Regions from separate parts of the Homo sapiens genome. Here region 2 is linked to region 1. The links are contacts of gene promoters, found by promoter capture Hi-C in blood cells and fetal thymus (Javierre and others, 2016). All regions are on one chromosome and are shown on one strand. The core of a region is centred on a gene start or on the middle of the fragment in contact, and the rest is flanking DNA. Distances in the headings are between cores, read along the strand shown. Region 1 holds the start of COMP (cartilage oligomeric matrix protein). Region 2 overlaps CRLF1 (cytokine receptor like factor 1).

Region 1 (6,968 bases), core at 4,469-6,968:
TGTTCCTAGTGAATTTTTTTTTTTTTTTTTTTTTTTTTTTTTTTTTTGACACAGAGTCTTACTCTGTCGCCCAGGCTGGAGTGCAATGGTGCAGTCTCGGGTCACTGCAACCTCCGCCTCCTGAGTTCAAGCAATTCTCCCGCCTCAGCCTCCTAAGTAAGTAGCTGGGATTACAGACACCTGCCATCATGCCCGGCTAATTTTTGTACTTTTGTACAGACAGGGTTTCACCATGTTGGCCAGGCTGGTCTTGAACTCCTGACCTCAGGTCATCCGCCCTCCTTGGCCTCCCAAAGTGCTGGGATTACAGACGTGAGCCACCACGCCCGGCCTCTGGTGAAATTCTTTCTCTCCTGAAGCAACTCTTCAGTATAGTAACCTGAGAAGTAAAATTTTACATTATAAGAAACTTTCGAAGGTGGCAAAAAAAAGAAGAAGAAATAAAGGAAAAAAGAAGAAACTGAGGCACAGAGAGGTTAAGCAACTTGCCTCATGTACCACAGCAGAGCTGGGATATGAAACTCAGGCTCTGATGCCAGAGACTGAGACCTTCATCACTGTGCCCCACTGTCTCCCATGATGACAAATTCCTGCCTTCTGGGACTTAAGGGATGACAGAAAGAGAAAACCCACAAAGGCTGAGTGGTAAGGTTTCAAGCATTTGGCACTTGCTCAAGAAAACTGTAGCCACTGTATTTATTGTTGTCTTCTTCCTTTATCGCCATCCAGTAGAGCCTGGGATGCAATGGGGGTAGGGACTGAGTAAAAGGAGAATGGGGCTGGGTGCAGTGGTGCACATCTGTGATCCCAGCACTTTGGGAGGCTGAGGTGGGAGGATCACTTGAGCCCAGAAGTTGGAGGCTGCAATGAGTGAGCTATGATTGTCACTGTACTTCAGGCCAGGCAACAGAGCAAGACCCTGTTTCAAAAAAAAAAAAAAAAAAAAGGAGACTGGGAGAGGAGGTGGCACCTGCCAAAGGTCACACGGCCAGTCGGGGGGCGTCTCCTGGACTTCAAAGCTCAGAGCCCCCCATCCCACCCCTGCCTTTTGTTCCTTCTAGAGAGATGCCTCCAGTACGTCTCTCCCAGTTCAAGGCAGGCTGAGGATGCAGAGGTCGCCAAGCTGCCCTCCCCTGCCGCCCTGATGAATTCCGCAGACTGGGGGCCTACAGCCCGGCCCGCCCAGGGCAGGGCGGCTGCCTTCACAACATACTTTCCTTCTGCATTCACAAAGGCAGGCAACGGTGGGGGCGGGAGGCAGGGAGCCGGGGCGCCCACACGTCTCCTGGCTGAGCAGACGTCTGCCAGGAAGGGCCCCGGGGCCCCATCATGCAGGCACCCGTCCCTCTTCCCCAGCCTGGCCGGGCTCCTGGAACCACGGGGCCTGGTGTGGGGCTGGCTGGGGCGCCGGCCAGATGCTCTGGCCAGGAGGTCCTGGGCCGAGAAGACATCCCAGTTAATGAGGGGCTCGGGCCAGCGAAATGCTGGATTCTGTTTCTGTGGCAAGGACAGAGAGGGCGGGTATGAAGGGCTTGAGGGTCTTGCATGCCTCAGTTCTAATTCTGGCTGTGTGACCTCAGACTGTCTCTTCTCCTCTCTGAGTAAGATAGAAATAAGAACGATCTGAGGTATAAGCGACAGGCACAGGGTATAAGTTTTTTTGTTTTGTTTTGTTTTTTTGAGACAAGGTCTCACTCGGTCGCCCAGGCTGGAGTGCAGTGATGTGATCTCGGCTCACTGCAACCTCTGCCTCCCCGGTTCAAGTGATTCTCCTGCCTCAGCCTCCCGATTAGCTGGGATTACAGGCACGCGCCACCACGTCCAGCTAATTTTTGTATTTTGAGTAGAGATGGAGTTTCACGTTGGCCACACTGGTCTCGAACTCCTGGCCTCAGGTGATCCACCTGCTGTGGCCTCCCAAAGTGCTGGGATTATAGGTGTGAGCCACCACACTGGCCCACGGTGTATAAATTTCATATGGAATAAGCACGCTAGTAGCGCTGGAGCTGGGCGCTGGGCTGAAGGATTTCCATGGGTCAGCTCATTCAATCCTCTCAACAGTGATCATCCTCATTTTATGGGTGAGAAAACTGAAGCACAGAGAGGTTAAGTGACTTGTCCTAGGTCACACAGTAAGGCCATGCTCACCAATATTTGAACCCAGGCTGTGTGGCCCCCTTCCCTGCCATATCAAGTACAGAGGTGGCAGGGGTTACTAGGATTCATATGATAATGTTGGCTGGGTGCAGTGGCTGAAATCCCAGGGTTTTGAGAGGCCGAGGAAGGAGGATCTGTTGAGCCCAGGAGTTCGAGACTAGCCTGGGCAACATAATAAGACCCCCATCTCTATTTTAAAAAAAAAAAAAAATAGTAATGACATTACATTAATTATAAAAAGTAGTAATGGCCAGGCGCGGTGGCTCACGCCTGTAATCCCAGCACTTTGGGAGGCTGAGGCAGGTGGATCACCTGAGGTCAGAAGTTCGAGACCAACCTGGCCAACATGGTGAAACCCCGTCTCTACTAAAAATATAAAAAAATTAGCTGGGCGTGGTGGCAGGTGCCAGTAATCCCAGCTACTCAGGAGGCTGAAGCAGGGGAATCACTTGAACTCAGGAGGCAGAGGTTGCAGTGAGCCGAGATTGCACCATCGCACTCCAGCTGGGCGACAAAAGTGAGACTCCATCTCAAAAAAAAAAAAAAAAAATAGTAATGAACACGAATCATAGGGATGCTGTCCCGGCTCACCAAGCCCTCCAGCCTAACCTTTCTACACCAGTCCAGGCCCCTGGGTGGGAGCCCCTCAGGCTCGGAGGGACAGAGCAAACCACAGACACTCACAGTCCCGAGGATCATGGCTAGGCTGGAAGGTTATCTGGAGAATATCAGCAGGGAAGGCTTCCTGGAGGAGGGGACATTATAGCTGGACCTTGAAGGATGGAGGAGTTTGTACGAGGTGGGGGGAACAGCAGGTACAAAGGCCCAGAATGACACCTACAGTGAGTTATTCTGTAATCTGAGGCAAGTGTGGTGTGCACAGGAGGAGGGGACTGCTGCCTAGAAGGGGGATTTCAGGGCTGGCGAGATCCAGGAGGCAGGAGTGTGACCCCAGACATCCCCTTTCCGGGCCTCTGTTGTCCGATCTTGGGACACCCTCAGGAACTCCACCTTTGTAGTTCCCTCCGCCTGGAATGCCCTTCCCTGCAACTCCCCGTGGCCCAGCCATGGATAAGGCCACGTGTGTCCAAGCCCCAGCACTGTGACCAGCCTGTGGCAGGGGCCTGGCTTCCATGTGCTCCTGTCCTAGCTGTGTGCAGCATATGCCAGCCCCCAGGCCCCACTGGAGCTGTGGTTTTCCCGAGAATTCCAGTGCTGCCAGGAGCGGCCCCCAGGTGTGCTGAAGGCCAAGGAAAACAGGAGGTGAGCTCATGGCCCCAATGTAGGCAGCAGGCAGGGCAGGCACTATTGAGGACAGGCTTCATTGGAAATGCTCTGGCTGGGACCAGCTGCTTCCACCAACACTCCACTTATAGGCCTGTCTCTCTTCACGCACTCTCTGTGGCTCCCCATTACCCTCGGGAGACCACTGGAGCCCCACACCACCAGCACTGCCCTTTCACACACAGCCTCATCTCCTGCTTCTCACTGAGCCCCAAGAGCTTGTCACCTTGAGGTCAGTCCATCCAACGGGCCAGGTTGGTTCCTGCCTCAGGGCCTTTGCCTATGCTGTTTCCTCTACCTGGAATGACTTTCTGCTACCTCTGCCTGGCTGTGTCCTCCTCATCATCCGGTCCTCAGCTTGGTGGTCCCTCCTCCTCCAGAAGCCCGCCCTGACCCATCCCCTTTCAAACAGATCAATTTCCTGGGGACTCCTACCATTGTCTGTGTGTCCCGTCACAGCCATGAGCCCACTGGGCTCCCCATTTGAAGGAGAGACTGGGTCTGGCTTCTTCACCCTGTGTGCCCATCACCCAGCACAGGAGACATGACACACAACAGTCCTTGATGTTTGTGAAATAATTATTGTGTCTAGAAATGTCCCCACCTCCAAGCTTCACATGCTTCCCTCCACCAAAACTGCCCTCACCTTTTCCCTCTGCTGATCCAAGTCCTCCTTTTCTTTTATGTCTGTCTCCTTGCTACCTCCTCCAGGAAGCCCTCGGTGACTTCTCTGTAGGCTCCCCAGAAAACATATCTGGCTCTGAGTCTAGATTCACCCCTGCCCTCGGGCAGTGGCCTTAGGCCAGTCACTTTTTCTCTCTGGGCCTCAGTTTCTCTGTCTATAGAATAGACGCTGTGAGTACTGGAAGGTGGGAGTGGAGAGTGTTAACTGATTGCAGGAGGTTAAGGGGTTTTGTAACTCCAGAGTGTGGCTGGCCAGTTAGCGGTAACTTTTATTTTTATTACAGGCTGTTCCCACAGCAGCTGGAGCACAGTTTGGAAGGTATGGCACAGCCTGGACAAACAGAAGCCCCGGACCTCCCCTTGCTAGAGCCCTTTAACTTGCTCCCCTCCAGATGGGGGCCTCACACCCCATTGCGCAGATTGGAAAACCAAGTGGGCCTGTCCCCTTGGACAGGGGTTGGGGCAAGATCCTGAACGCTGTCCCCTCCTCCACCAGCCGAGGGACCATGGGGAGGGGAGGGAACACCAGCAATGAGTTGGGTTGGGGGGAGTCATTTGCAGCCCTCCAGCGTTGGGGCCAGAAGCGGCCTCCTTGGACAGAGGCAGGAAAATTGAGAGTCCCAGGTCTCAACTGCCCCTCCCCTATTTTCCATTCATCATCATAATCATCATTACTATTAATCATTAATTAATAATTATTAACTTATTACCTCCATTGTGCAAGGGAGGAATTACGCCTGGGTAATTTTTGTACTTTTAGTAGAGATGGGGTTTCACCATGTTAGCCAGGCTGGTCTCAAACTCCTGACCTCAGGTGATCTGCCCGCCTTGGCTTCCCAAAGTGCTGGGATTACAGGTGTGAGCCACCGCACCCAGCAACTTACCCAGTTTTGAAGCACTTCAGGAGGAGTGGAGGGCCAGTCAGTCTGATCCATAGTGGGTGGACCTATTTTTTCAGACGCTGGTGACTCTGTTTCCCGAAGTGTGAGCTGAGAGCGTGGCCATGGAGCCTGCCTTGTTTGGAACTGGAACTCAGGTTTGGCATACAGCAAGCACTCAATCAATCAATCAATCAATGAGCTGAATGCTATGGCTGGATCCTGTAATCCCAGTTATGTGGGGAGTATCGCTTGAGGCCGGGAGTTTGAGACTACTAGCCTGCAGGACATAGCCAGACCCGGTCTCTAAAAATAAAAATAAAAATAAAAATAAATTAGCTGGACTTGGTGGTGCGGGCTTGTAGTCCCAGCTACATGGGAGACTGAAGCAAGAGGATGCGATACAGCCACACCCCGTCACACACACACACACACACACACACAGACGCACACACACAGTGAATGAAAGTGGGGGCAGTACCCCCTGACTCCCTGCCCCACCAGCTCTCTCCACAGACCCCGGGACTCAGTTTCCCCACCATGTCGGATTCAGCCGCGGGCGACTTCGCGGGGCATTCCGGGCGGGGACTTGAACGCAGGGGCCAGCGCCATCTGTTTACCTTGAGGCTGGACGTTGGGCAGGGCTGTGGTGGGCCGTCCCTGGGGCCGGCCGTGCCTTGGGGATAAATAGGCCCCGCGGGCCTCGTGGGCGGTAGAAAGCGAGCAGCCACCCAGCTCCCCGCCACCGCCATGGTCCCCGACACCGCCTGCGTTCTTCTGCTCACCCTGGCTGCCCTCGGCGCGTCCGGACAGGGCCAGAGCCCGTTGGGTAAGCCGCGTTAGCACCCGCGCCGTGCCCACGGCCCCACAACGGACTGTAGGACCCGTGAGAGGCCCGGGATCCAGGCTGTTTGGGGCTCACGGACTGTTCGTAGGGGACGTGCCGGGCGCAGAAAGCAGGTGGCGGGACCGAGACTAGAGGAGCGCAGTGGGGCCTCGGAGGTCCGGGTTCGCTGCAACGGTGGGAGTTGGTGGTGGGATTCCCCGGCCCCATGACGCCTCACCAGGTCCCCTGCCGCCGCAGGCTCAGACCTGGGCCCGCAGATGCTTCGGGAACTGCAGGAAACCAACGCGGCGCTGCAGGACGTGCGGGAGCTGCTGCGGCAGCAGGTGCGGGGCCCGGGTGCGGGGCAGGGAGTGCCAGGGAACGGAAGGGGGTCTCAGTTCCCAGCGAGGAGAGAGGAAGTACCCGAGAAGGTGGAGAGGAGATGGGGAGGGAAGGGGGTCGGCGGGTAGGGAGTCCTTGGCGAAAAGAGGCTGTAGAAAGGGACCCCGGGGTAGAGAGAGGGGAGACCCGAGGGATGAGGAGAGGTTGGGACCCCGCTGATTCCATCCCACCCCTGCAGGTCAGGGAGATCACGTTCCTGAAAAACACGGTGATGGAGTGTGACGCGTGCGGTGAGCGCGGCGGGGCGGTCGGGAGAGAGAAGAGACGGGAGACAGAGACACAGAGACAGAGACAGAGAGCCAGGGAAAGCTGGGGAGGAAAAGAGACGGAAGGAGATGGAGGCTGACGGAGAGGTGGACGGACGAACGGGAATGGGATGGGGTGTGTAGAAACAGAGACAAAAAGAGACAGAAGCGGTGAGAGAGTTTTGGGGAAGTGAGAGACGCCACGGGGCAGAAAAGCGGGACAGAGACTCAGAGAAGAGACCGGGGAGACCCCGCGGTCAGAGCGCGCAGCCTCTGGGGCGGGATCGCGGACAGCGCAGGATTTCGGGCCGCCCCGGGGCGGGGGGTGGGGGGGAAGGGGAAGCCTCCAGCCCCGGGGCGTGGCCATGATAGGCTCTGCCCCCGGGCGAGCCACCGATCAGCCCCGCCGCTTCTCCCCCCTCCCCCCCGCAGGGATGCAGCAGTCAGTACGCACCGGCCTACCCAGCGTGCGGCCCCTGCTCCACTGCGCGC
Region 2 (6,968 bases), core at 4,469-6,968, 190 kb after region 1:
CGGCCTGGCCCGCGCCCTCCCGCGCCCGGCCTGCGTCCCGCGCCCTGCGCCACCGCCGCCGAGCCGCAGCCCGCCGCGCGCCCCCGGCAGCGCCGGCCCCATGCCCGCCGGCCGCCGGGGCCCCGCCGCCCAATCCGCGCGGCGGCCGCCGCCGTTGCTGCCCCTGCTGCTGCTGCTCTGCGTCCTCGGGGCGCCGCGAGCCGGATCAGGAGCCCGTGAGTACCCGGCGCCCCACTCCTTCCCCCCTGCCAGAGCAGAGGGCGGGCGCCCCGGGGGCAGCCGCGGGGGGAGGGGGCGCGGGCGCCACCTGGACGGCCGGGGAACAAAGGAAGGCGCCCCCGGCGCAGCCCTCGGGGCGCCCTCACCTGCGGGGCACACGGCGCCGCAGTCCACTGTCCAGAGAGTCCTGCTTCCGCGCCCGAGGCCCTGTTACCTGGGCAGCTGGGCCGAGGGCGCCAGGCCAGGCCCCCGGGGGCTGGGGGGATCGCGGCCTGAGACCCTCTGCATGCCAGGACGTGGCGGGCGCACGCGTCTGCTTCGGTGGACTCTGGGCCCCTGGGACTGCAGGGCACCGCTCCCAGGCGGGGGCGCACGCGGTTGGCGCGCTGGGTGCGGGCCCCCAGCGGGCCCCCCCAGGCGGAGGGATGAGCCCCACGGGGAGGGCGGGGCTGCAGGGGGGCCGCTCTGGCCGCCTGGCGCGCAGCCCGGGGTCCCGGGGGACTTGTGTCTCCACGGGCCGGCGCCACCGCCCTCCCCCTGCGGGACCCGGCGCACGGGGGTCCGCGGAGTCCCCGCCACCGGCGGCGCTTAGAACCGTTTTCAGCCAGGCTGCGTCGGGCGGAGAGCCTCCAGCGAGAGGAATCTTTGTGAGCGAGTGGGTGAGAGGGAGAGGGAGCGGGAGCCAGTGAGTCCGGGCACCAGCGGGCCCAAACTTTGAGGGGGCCCACTGGGAACCCGCTGCCCTACGGGCCAAGACCCCTGCCCTGGAGGGACTTCTGGCCTCAGGCACTCTGGGGCCCCCCATCCAAGGAACACCCCCGCAAGGATACGTCTCCGTATGCAGACCCGCTCTGGGACACACCCAGAGACACACAAAGAATCACACTGGCTTGTGGCCCGTCACCCTCGCCCTCAAACTCGCGCACACTGCATCCCAGGTGCACATTCGCGCACCATCGCGGACGCACACACATTCCATCCCCGACACACACATTCACGGTCACACACATCCCACAGGGGAGGCGACCCAGGGGCACAGAGGCAGGCACCACTCGCCCCAGATGTTCAGTCACTCCACGCACCCCATCCAGGCGCACGGGCCACCCCGGGGGTCGCCGGGCACACACTGCTCCCAGGCTCATCCACCCTGTGCTGGGCTGTTTGCGGGCTGCCTGTAGGGCTCCTCCGGGAAGGGGCAGGGTCCGGGCATCTTCTAGGGGCACTTGCTGAAAGCCTGGCTCTCCCCTGGCTTTCAGGTGAGGGGCTACCTCGGGCCCTCCCAGGGCCCCTGACGGCTCTGCCAGGCGGTGGGCAGCGCCTGTGAGTGCCACTGTGAGCGCCAAGCTTTGTTTTCAGCCAGTAGAGCAGCAGGCGAAGGTGTAGGGGGTGGGGGGGCACTGTAAGTGTGTTTTTTCCTTTAAGGGGGGAAGAAATTAAATAAAAGATTCTCACACCTCGGCAATATGTTTCTACTTACGGTGTGTCTTAGCACCTGACCAGCAGGCGGGTGGGTCGTAAAGTGTCTGCAGGTACCAGCGGGACGGGAGATGGGGACCCCCGTGGGGACCCTGGGATGGAGGCCACCCTTCCGCCCTGCTTGCAGAGAATCTCACACTTTTCCCTTTTAAAACACATGGTGTTCCTTTTTAATAACGGCAGTGGCTCCAGATTGGGAAAAGAGGAGAGAAAAAACTTTTAAAGGCCCCAGCTCTGCGGGAAAGGAGGGGAGGCAGGGAGTGAAAAGGGAGCTGTTCAAAAGCCCAACCTAGGGATCTGCTTTGGGGAGCCCTAGGAGGCCCTCCAAACCAAGCCAAGCCCCCACCAACTCCGGCTCAGTGGGCTGTTCCCAGCTGCTCCCCTGCCTGGCCTGGAGTGCGTGCATCTCTGTCCCCAGCGCCTTAGCCCATTGTTTGTGGAGGCCTGGAGGGAGTGCCTAGTCAGCCGGGACCCCAGAGCTGGGAGGGGCTGTCATCTTTGCAGCTCCTGGGGGCTTCAGGCTTCTGAGCCCTCTGGACATTGGATTGCAATCACATCTCATTGATCTCCCCAGCAAGTAGAACGTATTTCTCCTCCCATTTTATGGAGGAGAAAATTGAGAACTGGAGAGGGGAAGTCAATTGGCCAGGTTCTCCCACTGGTGTTGCGCCCATATCCCGGGAGGAGAAAGTGTCCTTCTGACCTTACCGGCTGGGGCTAAGGGGGTGGGAGATTGGTCTGTCCAGGCCCGCCTGGCCTTGCCTTCCCCCTACAACCCGTCGCCGCCCGGTGTCCCCCGCCCAGCCCCGGGAGGGCAGCTGCAGCTGCTGGCAAGTGAGCCACGCCGGCCCAGGCCAGGCGGGTGTGGCAGAGGGGCAGCGCCCCCCAGCCAGGACCCCCCAGAGAGCCCCTTCCTGCCCAGGCCAAGCTGGCGGGTGGTGGGGGCAGGAGGAGTGAGACCCACTCTAGAAGGGCTGAGAGGGGCCTGGGGTCTGGGCAGGCCTGGCCGTGCCTCCCACTCTGTTGGGGGGGCCCAGGCAGGAAGCGGTGGGTGGGCCGGGGCAGAGACGCTGGCACACCCGAGTTCATGCAAAAGGAATTCCGAATTAGCGGGCGGCTGGCTGCCTGGGACCTCCAGGGCGGTCCCCTGGCCCCCAGCCCCCCGCCCCCCTCGGCCGCCCCCGCCTCCTCGGCTCTGGCCCGCTCAGCCGGCTCCTTCGCACGGACGCGGAGACCTCCGGCGAGCCCTGGGCCAAGCCCCAAGCGCAACTGCGATTCCAGGCTCCAGCGAGACAGAGCCCTCGAGCCAAGTTTGCCCCGGAAAATCATCAGGGCCGGCCCAAGAACCGTGTCCACCCCACCTCGCCCATCTGGGGCAGTGAGGGCAAGTGCAGGGCAGCGCTGGCATTCAGGGGGCCTCCCTGGGGGCCAGGATCACCCTGTCCTTGGCTGCCATCTCTGCGAAGCTGGGCTGCCCCTGCCTCCTGCAGTCCCTTCTTCCAGCCGCCTGGGGAGTCCTTTTAACGCATATCTCACCGCATCCCTCCCTCCCCGGCTGAGAACCCTGGAATCCCTCCTCCCTGCAGGTCAGGGTCTCTGACCTCTCAAACCTCATTTCCCACCGCTTCTGCCCCAGGACCTTGGCACTTGCAGCTCCCACTGCCTGGACATGCTCTGTTAGATAATGTCACAGCTACTTCTCTTACTTTATTCAGGTCTCTGCTCAAAGGTCACCTCCCCAGACAGGCCTCCCAAGCTTCTGCCGCTGCTCTGTCTTCCTCCAGCCCCTGCTTTACTTTCTCCCCTAGTTATTGTCTTAGATATTTATTTATTCCTTTTTCCTGCTGCTTCCTTGGATTTGATGCCCACAAGGGCAGGACTTTTGTGTGTCTTGGGCATCACCCCAGTGCCCACAGATCCGGACACACTATAGGTACCCTGTGAATGAATAGATGAACGCGTGAACGAACAAAGGCGTGGATGAGTCTTTACAACCACTCTGTGTGGAACGAGAAGCCCCTTTCCAGAGGCTCAAAGAAGTAAAACACTGAGGCCGGGTGCAGTGGCTCACGCCTGTCATCCCAGCACTTTGGGAGGCCAAGGCGGGTGGATCACTGGAGGTCAAGAGTTCGAGACCAGCCTGGCCAACATGGCGAAACTCCGTCTCTCCTAAAAATACAAAAATTAGCTGGGTGTGGAGGTTATGGTGAGCCGAGATTGTGCCACTGCACTCCAGCCTGGGTGACAGAGTGAGACTCTGTCTCAAAAAAAAAAAAAAGTAGAACACTGAGTCAGGCTGGGGGCATTCGAGTCCAGGTCAACTTGGTTTAAAGATCTCATGGGAAAATATTGTCTCCAACAATATTTTCACTCCTCTCAAACAACCTCATGAGGTTTGTTTTGTTGGTTTTTATAAATTTAAATCTAAATTTTTTATTTCTTTTTTGAGACAGGGTCTCACTGTCACCCAGGCTGGAGTGCAGTGGTGCAGTCATGGCTCACTGCAGCCTCAACTTCCCGGGCTCCAGCGATCCTCCTGCCTCAGCCTCCCAAGTAGCTAAGACCACAGGCATGGGGCCACCACCCCCTCCCCACCTGGCTAATTTTTGTATTTTTGGTAGAGACAGGGTTTCACCATGTTGCCCAGGCTGTCTCAAACTCTTGACCTCACGTGATCCTCCCACCTCAGCCTCTCAAAGTGCTGGGATTACAGGCATGAGCCACCGCACCCAGCCAACCCCATGACATTGACGCCATGATGTCCACTTTCCAGATGGGGAAACTGAGACTCAGAGAGGCATTGGGAGGTTGGCCTGTGCACCCCCTCCTCCTCTGGGCCTTGGTTTCCCTATGGACAAGGTTCTGGTCTCCAGAAGGGGAACTCCTGGGCTGCCCTGATGGCCAGCAGGAGAGAGAGGCATCAACCACCCATGGGCGTCCCCAAGTTTCCTGTGCCTAGTACCTGACTCACACACAACCTGGTTCAGGAAGTCCTTTCCCCTCTGACTTTCACAATACCCCAGGAGACAAAGAGCTTTCTCGTTCTCACTTTGCAGATGAGGAAAACTGAGTGGAGGGAAACAGCGATGATGTCAAGTCCCTTTGGATGGGAGTTGGGGACGTGCAGTTTGCCAGGGCTGCCTTTAGTTCCAGAGGTAGGCAGTGTGGAACAGAACTTTGGAGACCAGAAAATCTGGGCCTAACTAGTATGGCCTTCCCTCATTCCAGCAAGGAAACTCCATCTTTCAGAGCCGGAGTTTTTTCATCTTTAACATATAAGCAGGATTGGCCGAGAAAATGTAGGTAGTCTTAGCCCAGTATTCAGAACACAACAAGTGCTCAATAAATGGTGCTGTTAGGCCAGGCGCAATGACTCACGCCTGTCATCCCAGCACTTCGGGAGGCTGAGGCGAGTGGATCACTTGATGTCAGGAGTTCGAGACCAGCCTGGCCAACATGGCGATTCTTGGACTCTACTAAAAATACAGGCTGGGCGCGGTGGTTCACCCCTGTAATCCCAGCACTTTGGGAGGCTGAGGCAGGCGGATCACAAGGTCAGGAGTTCGAAACCAGCCTGACCAGCACGGTGAAACCACATCTCTACTAAAAATACAAAAATTAGCCGGGCACGGTGATGTGTGCCTGTAATCCCAGCTACTCGGGAGGCTGACGCAGGAGAATCACTTGAACCTGGGAGGCGGAGATTGCGGTGAGCCGAGATCGTGCCATTGCACTCCAGCCTGGGCAACAAGAGCAAAACTCCGTCTCAAAAAAAAAAAAAACATGGTGCTCTTAATGATTCAAGTAAGGGTCAGGGCTTTCATTTTAAGCAGTGCCCTTCCCCCACAGAAACACCTACTATGTGTGAGGCTCTGGGAGCATCACAGGAAGAACCCACAATCTTTTGTTTCTAGTTGCCAAAAAAGAAAAACAAAATGAGAATGAAAAATAAAGAAGGCTAGGCACCGAAGCTCATGCCTGTGATCCCAGGACTTTGGGAGGCCAAGGTGGGAGGATCGCTTGAGGCCAGGAGTTCAAGACCGGCCTGAGCAAACTAGCGAGACCTCATCTCTAAAAAAATATTTAAAAATCAGCCAGGTGTGGTGGTGCACACCTGTAGTCCCAGCTACTTGGGAGCTGAGATGAGGGAGGATCACTTGAACCCAGGAGATCGAGGCTGCAGTGAGCTATGATCGTGCCACTGCACTCCAGCCTGGCCAACAGAGTGAGACCCTGTCGCTAAAAAAATAAAAAGCAAAGCATGCCTGGGTGTATTGGCTCACTCCTGTAATCCCAGCACTTTGAGAGGCCGAGGGAGGTGGATCACGAGGTCAGGAGTTCAAGACCAGCCTGGCCAATATGGTGAAACCCCGTCTCTACTAAAAATACAAAACTTGGCCAGGCGCAGTGGCTCACGCCTGTAATCCCAGCACTTTGGGAGGCCCATACGGATGGATCATGAGGTCAGGAGATCGAGACCATCCTGGCTAACATGCTGAAACCCCGTCTCTACTAAAAATACAAAAAATTAGCCAGGCGTGGTGGCGGGCGCGTAGTCCTAGCTACTTGGGAGGCTGAGGCAGGAGAATGGCATGATCCCGGGAGGCGGAGCTTGCAGTGAGCCGAGATCGTGCCACTGCACTCCAGCCTGGGCGACAGAGCAAGACTGCGTCTCAAAAAAAAAAAAATACAAAAGTTAGTCAGGCATGGTGGTGCACACCTGAAGTCCCAGCTACTCGGGAGGCTGAGGCAGAAGAATTGCTTGGACCCGGGAGGCGGAGGTTGCAGTGAGCCGAGATCGTGCCACTGCACTCCAGCCTGGGCGACAGAGCGAGACTCCGTCTCAAAAAAAAAAAGCAAAGCATAGTGTTTGTCATAACGATGTGCTAAGCAAGAGTCACTTGGATCCGAATGAGCCTCTATGCCCGAGTTGTGTGACCCCTCAGAGAACCTTAAGCATGTCAGTGATGAAGAGTTTTGGAAGGATCCAGTGTTGGAGTCAGACAGACCTGGACAACTCCAGGTCTGTCAGTTTGGCCACCAGTGTTGCCCTGGGCATTTAACCCAACTGATCTCTACCTTCCCTATCTGTAAAATGGGGGACAATCATTAACAGCGTCTTTTCAGGACCACCATGAACCCTGGAGGTCCTGGCATGGTTGGGGGCTTGGAGGGTCCCCGCCCTGGCCTGACACGTGTTCCTCTTTGACCCCAGACACAGCTGTGATCAGTCCCCAGGATCCCACGCTTCTCATCGGCTCCTCCCTGCTGGC

What was found. Contacts are between HindIII fragments. The CHiCAGO score rates a contact against its expected background, and 5 or more counts as called.
Region 2: a contact is called between a fragment that was not itself captured here and the fragment with the promoter of COMP in region 1, in 1 of 17 cell types (M0 macrophages). The highest score is 5.9, in M0 macrophages.

What each region holds. Positions count from the first base shown.
Region 1 is chr19:18,790,055-18,797,022 of GRCh38, reverse strand. It overlaps COMP (cartilage oligomeric matrix protein), which reads left to right and starts at 5,718. Exons shown (of 19, transcript NM_000095.3): 1 at 5,718-5,832; 2 at 6,088-6,173; 3 at 6,410-6,461; 4 at 6,909-6,968. The coding sequence starts at 5,754. RefSeq lists enhancers at 1,314-1,843, 5,399-5,977, 5,978-6,558, 6,559-6,968. The HindIII fragment of the contact is 6,208 bases long and covers 4,055-6,968 here.
Region 2 is chr19:18,599,789-18,606,756 of GRCh38, reverse strand. CRLF1 (cytokine receptor like factor 1) reads left to right here. Exons shown (of 9, transcript NM_004750.5): 1 at 1-215; 2 at 6,911-6,968. The coding sequence starts at 101. Among named protein-coding and RNA genes, the nearest start is that of CRLF1, 3.5 kb to the left of the region's middle. RefSeq lists an enhancer at 1-836. The HindIII fragment of the contact is 4,529 bases long and covers 3,454-6,968 here.